Regions from separate parts of the Homo sapiens genome. Here region 2 is linked to region 1. The links are contacts of gene promoters, found by promoter capture Hi-C in human tissues and cell types (Jung and others, 2019). All regions are on one chromosome and are shown on one strand. Each heading gives the region's core, a stretch centred on a gene start or on the middle of the fragment in contact. The rest is flanking DNA. Distances are from core to core; before and after follow the strand shown.

The links. Contacts are between HindIII fragments. The study calls those that stand out against the background at their distance.
Region 2: a contact is called between a fragment that was not itself captured here and the fragment with the promoter of OR8B4 in region 1, in 2 of the 25 tissues and cell types used here (adrenal gland and thymus).

What each region holds. Positions count from the first base shown.
Region 1 is chr11:124,423,347-124,426,592 of GRCh38, reverse strand. It overlaps OR8B4 (olfactory receptor family 8 subfamily B member 4), which reads left to right and starts at 1,722. Exons shown (of 1, transcript NM_001005196.1): 1 at 1,722-2,651. The coding sequence starts at 1,722. The coding sequence ends at 2,651. The HindIII fragment of the contact is 10,487 bases long and covers 1-3,246 here.
Region 2 is chr11:124,495,152-124,498,395 of GRCh38, reverse strand. No RefSeq gene overlaps it. Among named protein-coding and RNA genes, the nearest start is that of OR8B12, 47 kb to the left of the region's middle. The HindIII fragment of the contact is 7,572 bases long and covers 1-3,244 here.

The DNA.
Region 1 (3,246 bases), core at 473-2,972:
AATAATTATACAGAGATAATGAGTGTAAGTCAGGACTGTCCCAGGCGAACTGGGATTATTTTAGGTAGCCTTAGTGAAACTTACAAATGCAGATGCTCCCATGTCTTTGAATTTTTCTTAAAATATTCATCTAGCAGATCATATGGAGAGCAGCTTTGTCATCTGAATAATGGCAGGATTAGACCCTTACATCCATCTCCCATTATACCTTAAGCCTGCATGCCTAGAGAGTAACTCTGTGTAGGGGTGTGTGTGTGTGTGTGTGTGTGTGTGTGTGTGTGTGTGTGTGCTTTCTAGCATATGTGTTGTGATATTTTAATCTCTTCATATATAGTAAAGGCCTGTCTGCGGCCCTTATTAGAGCTGCGAGTAGGTGGTGTTTGTGGTGGAGGTGGTGTGGTTTCTGTTCTGAGCAGCGCATGGTCCAAGAAGCCTTTTATCTGAGGTGCTCTCTGTAGATCTGATCTGACCTTTTCTGAGGGGTCCTACTCTCATAGCTCCCTGTGAAGATTTGGAGATGGTGGCTTAGGTTGGGGCTATTCACTCTTAAATTCAAGCTTAGGCTCTGAGAGTTAATGAGAAAGGAAAAAATGAGTCCCCAAACTCAGCACTGAATAACATGAAATCCCTGGAGTAGAGGGAAAGTTTGAGTGGAACCCCCACTCCCAAGATGCTAGGTAAGCACCGTTATCCAGGCTGTAAACAAAGACAGTGCAATTCCTTCCCTATAGAGACAGATCTTGGAGAAATTCCCAGGGGAAACTGTGTCTAATCAGGTCCCTGAGATCGTCAAGCAGCTTAAATTCCTCTGTGATATGACAGCTGGGGTTCTGGTCAAAATGAGAGTTCCTAGTTTTTTTTCCTGAAGTTGTCAAGACCACCTGGGAAAATCCACAAACAGAAACCATGGTCTATTCCTTGAGCACCTTGGAGCCTGGGGTCTGTAAAAGCTCTGATTCTCAGCACCAAGGGAGTCAAAAGAGGTAATACGCAAGGCTGTGTGCTTTCTGCACAAGCAGCACCATTTTCTCTTTCTGGCTAATGGAAAAAGAGATGGCGTAAGGCCCAGCACTGAGTGGGGCCCGGGAGAAGGAAGGTGAAGGTCCGAATCCTGTCTTTCCTGATGGTCTCTTTGAAACCCACAACCAAGGGCTCTGGGAAGTATGGATCCCGTCTCTGCTCTCAACACTGACCCTGAGGTGAGATGGAATGGAGGGTCTTCGAGGAGGCGGGTGGGATGTAAAGAGCCAGCAGGTAACACTCTTGGCTTTCTCTCCAGATGGAAATCCACTATCTAGTTGGGAGACGGAGGCAGAGAATGGGAGGGCATCCTGGTGACCTTGAGAGCTCTGGTCTCTCAGCTCTTGAGGCAGCGGCCCAGGTTGTACTCTTGGTTCTCAGGGTGTCTTTCTGAGAGTCCCTGGGCAGCCAATTCAGGTGTGTTGTCTCCCTCGTCATCTCTCAAGCAGAGACGGAATTCTTGCTGCCCATGGTAACAGATGCTAGCTTGAATTCATGATCGGCCCAGCAGAGCTGAGATCCTCTCACAGACACGTTGTTAATACCTCAGGGTGGGGAGGTGTGTAGATGAGGGAGGATGGAAGAGAGGGCATCTGCACACTGGCTGGTCCACTAGAGTCTTCTTCCCTTAGCCATGCTTGTGCCTGTCATGACTCTTTGTGTTTTGCCCTCTGCTTCCCCAGACAGCTCGCCAAGAGAGAATGACTCTGAGAAACAGCTCCTCAGTGACTGAGTTTATCCTTGTGGGATTATCAGAACAGCCAGAGCTCCAGCTCCCTCTTTTCCTTCTATTCTTAGGGATCTATGTGTTCACTGTGGTGGGCAACTTGGGCTTGATCACCTTAATTGGGATAAATCCTAGCCTTCACACCCCCATGTACTTTTTCCTCTTCAACTTGTCCTTTATAGATCTCTGTTATTCCTGTGTGTTTACCCCCAAAATGCTGAATGACTTTGTTTCAGAAAGTATCATCTCTTATGTGGGATGTATGACTCAGCTATTTTTCTTCTGTTTCTTTGTCAATTCTGAGTGCTATGTGTTGGTATCAATGGCCTATGATCGCTATGTGGCCATCTGCAACCCCCTGCTCTACATGGTCACCATGTCCCCAAGGGTCTGCTTTCTGCTGATGTTTGGTTCCTATGTGGTAGGGTTTGCTGGGGCCATGGCCCACACTGGAAGCATGCTGCGACTGACCTTCTGTGATTCCAACGTCATTGACCATTATCTGTGTGACGTTCTCCCCCTCTTGCAGCTCTCCTGCACCAGCACCCATGTCAGTGAGCTGGTATTTTTCATTGTTGTTGGAGTAATCACCATGCTATCCAGCATAAGCATCGTCATCTCTTACGCTTTGATACTCTCCAACATCCTCTGTATTCCTTCTGCAGAGGGCAGATCCAAAGCCTTTAGCACATGGGGCTCCCACATAATTGCTGTTGCTCTGTTTTTTGGGTCAGGGACATTCACCTACTTAACAACATCTTTTCCTGGCTCTATGAACCATGGCAGATTTGCCTCAGTCTTTTACACCAATGTGGTTCCCATGCTTAACCCTTCGATCTACAGTTTGAGGAATAAGGATGATAAACTTGCCCTGGGCAAAACCCTGAAGAGAGTGCTCTTCTAATGGGTCTCTTCATATCACTGGCAACCGATTCTCGGTAAGCATGATACTCAAGTGTCTTTCTATTTATAGGCGGAGGAATTTTAATATTTTTCCTCAAAGAGGGTCTCCTCTCCACTTTTAAAAATTGGAAATCTCTTTCCTATACTCTCCTTGAGGACTATATTATTTTGCAACAATTAAATTGGCTCACTGCCTGCAAGTTAGTGTCTATGAAATGCCTTTTGTTTACTGAACTCTGTATTAGGCCCAAGAGATGAGTAAGATGAGGCTCCATGCCTTCCATTCTTTTCTTGGTAGGCTAAATGGGTTTTTCTGAGCAAGAACGTTTCTGGCTGGAACAAGGGGCAGGTGGTGGTATAAAGGTTGAGGAGTGTTTTCTCTTTAGTTACATAAGCAGACTTATTAAAGATCAATGGTAGATACCTTGGTGCCAGTGCTAATATGATTATATATCCAGCTCTTCAGGAGGTTGCTTGGTCAGGAAGATCATAAACCCTCCTTTTCATATACATGTATGTACATAAAAGAAGCCCTCACACAAGAATTTTCTATGATCTGCTCTGTAAGGATAAATCAAATCCAAATCTTTTATTTC
Region 2 (3,244 bases), core at 544-3,043, 72 kb before region 1:
TTCTAAAACAGCTCACATTTTGGTTATTTGTCCAAAGATTGCATAGGATAATCTCGTTCCCCAGAAGTAGGTCAGGTCACCAACCAGTGTAGGGAAACGTCTGGGCTGAAGTGGAAATAGTTTTAGAGAGGTTGCCTTCTTTACATTTTCTAGTTACTTTTTCAAGATAATTTGAAAAATAAATGTATCAGCAGTGAAATAGTTCTTAGCTATATTTATGGGGCGTCGGAAGCAATAATTTAACACGCAACTATGTACTTATATGAGATAAGCAATTACGTGTTTTTCACAAGAGGAAACCTGGTTTTGGCAAAAGATTTCCCTTCTTTCTAAATGGGCCAATTATTTCTGGCCGAAAGCAGATGATTCCTTTTAAATGGGCACCTATTTTTCATGCCCTAGCAGAGTAAAGAATGAGAGGAATCCTTTTATTTTATCCATATTTCCGCTTTTCCCTGCTGAAGCTGGGTAACTGAACTGGAGTTGAATGGCCTGGTCTCCACAGGGTTCTCTTTTTAGGACTGGCCTGTCCTCTGGACCAGCATTTGTAGCCTCTTTGATGTACCCCATCCCCCTTGGTAGGGGAGGCCTGATATTGTTTGTTTCTCCTTGTGCCTGGGTTCATTAGGCTTGTCTGGCAAAAGCAATGAGGGAATCAGAAAATCCCAGTGTGGTTGTAGATTTAAGCTGTGTCCTCCAGTTAACTTTATCAGTATTAAAGCTGAAATTTTGGGCCGGGCGTGGTGGCTCACGCCTGTAATCCCAGCACTTTGGGAGCCTGAGGAGGGCAGACTGCCTAAAGTCAGGAGTTCCAGACCAGCCTAGCCAGCATGGTGAAACCCCATCTCTACTAAAAATACAAACATTAGCCGGGCGTGGTGGTAAGCACCTGTAATCCCAGCTACTTGGGAGGCTGAGGCAGGAGAATCGCTTGAACCTGGGAGGCAGAAGTTGCAGTGAGCCCAGATTGTGCCATTGCACTCCAAGCTGGGTGACAGAGTGAGACTCTATCTCAAAAAAAAAAAAAAAAAAAAAAAAAGCTGACATTTTTATCTGCTTCTGTGATTATCCTGTGTCTTATTTCTCAATTTGTCTTCCAGTGAGGGTGCAGAGAATAGGATAAATGGTCATCATCTTTAACAACCTCAACTACCGCCTTCTTACCCTTCCACCCATTCAGCATTGTAGCCCGTAGTGTCATGCACCTTTGCCCAAATATGCAGGGCTTTACTGGGCTTCCATTTCCAATTTTTGTTTTTGCTTTTTTTTTTTTTTTTGTTCCTATGCCTGCAATGCCCTCCTTCACCCTCTGCTGTTAACCTGCTTATTATTCATGACTCATAGTAATATGTTCCTACTATATTATAAATCTGAGAACATATTTTCTTAGAAACAATGTAATAGTAACATAATGGGACATGGTTTCTGAGTAGAATTTAAAGTAAAATAGGCCAGGCACGGTGGCTCACACTTGTAATCCCAGCACTTTGGGAGGCCAAGGCGGGCGGATCACGAGGTCAAGAGATCGAGACCATCCTGGCCAACATGGTGAAATGCCATCTCTACTAAAAATACAAAAATCAGCTGGGCGTGGTGATGCACACCTGTAGTCCCAGCTACTCGGGAAGCTGAGGTAGGAGAATCACTTGAACCCCGGAGGCGGAGGTTGTAATGAGCCGAGATGGCACCACTGCACTCCAGCCTAGGTGACACAGTGAGACTCTGTCTCAAAAAAAAAAAAAAAAAAAAAGTAAAATAAATGAAAGATATGATCAGCAATATGTTATCAAAGCAAAAATACACTATATGTTAAAACATGTAATTATGTTTCATCAAGGTCTCTAATTTTATAAAATGGGGCATGAGCTACTTTCTGAATTGATTATCTAGGGAAAGTCAATAGGCAATAAAGCAAAGTTATACGGCCCATGAAAAATAGATCTTTATTGTGATTTTGACTACTTAAAACATAAATGTATGTTAAACAAGAATTTAACTAACAATAATGTAATTAACTTTAATAAACATTAACATGAATTTAGAGATGTGTTGATGACCTTTGCTATTTTATAAACCTACCCAGAAACTTTTGAAGTGACACACATATTCAGTATCTATCTGTGTAGTATGTAAGTCATGTATAATGTTTTCTATTACCATCAGAGCTGCATCATCCGACATTATTTTAAGAAATAATTATTGTCATAAAATGAAATGGAGAAACAAACTGTATATTAATACAATGGTAAAATACACAGAAAAAACCTTCAAAGTACTGCTGCATATAACAACACAGACCCATCTATCTCACAGACATAATTATCAAAATAAACCAGGGAACAAAATATGTCAAGTTCAAGAATAGGTGAAGTTGGTCTATAAAGGTAGAATACAGAATATGGGAACTTCTTGGGAGAGTGGTGTTGCTGTTGACTAAAGAGTGTCACGAAAGAAACTTCTGGGTGTTGGAAATGTTCTGTACCTTGATCTGAGTGGTGACTGCAGACTGTGTTGCTCTCTGAAGATTTTTGCACTTTAAGTATGCTATCCATAGCGTAGGGTGAAGAAATGCGGGTATATTATAAACGGATAAAAAAAGAAATTCTGGGTATGATCGAGCAAAAACTCTACCAGATGACACCCCTACAGGAAAATTAAATGTAGACATAATTAAAGAAAAGCAAAAATCCCTGAAGGTGCTGTAGAATGAACAGAAGCAGATTGATCCTGGTAGGGAATGAAGAATCACTTGGAGGAGGGGAGATGGGGAGCGATACTAAGTAAGCGCCCATCTTGGTAGCTTTTTCCTTGGCACCAAGTGTAGCCTACACAGTGCCCATGTGGAAAAATTCATAGCCTCTCTAACTCAGGAAACAAGAAAAGCAAAGTCAAGAAATCCCAAATACTGAAGAGAGCTGGGGAAGTTCTGGAAACAAATGAACCAGAGAGGAGATCCCCAAACTGGATTCACTCACATCTTTGACCTAAATCATGCACGTGCAGCACAGACTCAGCAGCTCAAGTAAAGATGAAATATCTGGACTGGTATCAGACATGCTCAAGAAAGAAAAACTTGCATTTTAAGCCCAGCCAAGAAAATTCTGTGTAAAAGGAAGGCAAACAAAACTCACTGGAGAAAAAAAAAAATCCAGACTTTCCACTTAACATTTACGATGTCCAGGATACAATCTCAAGTTACCTGACATATAAAGAACTAAGAAAATGAAAAAAATTTCTCAAGAAA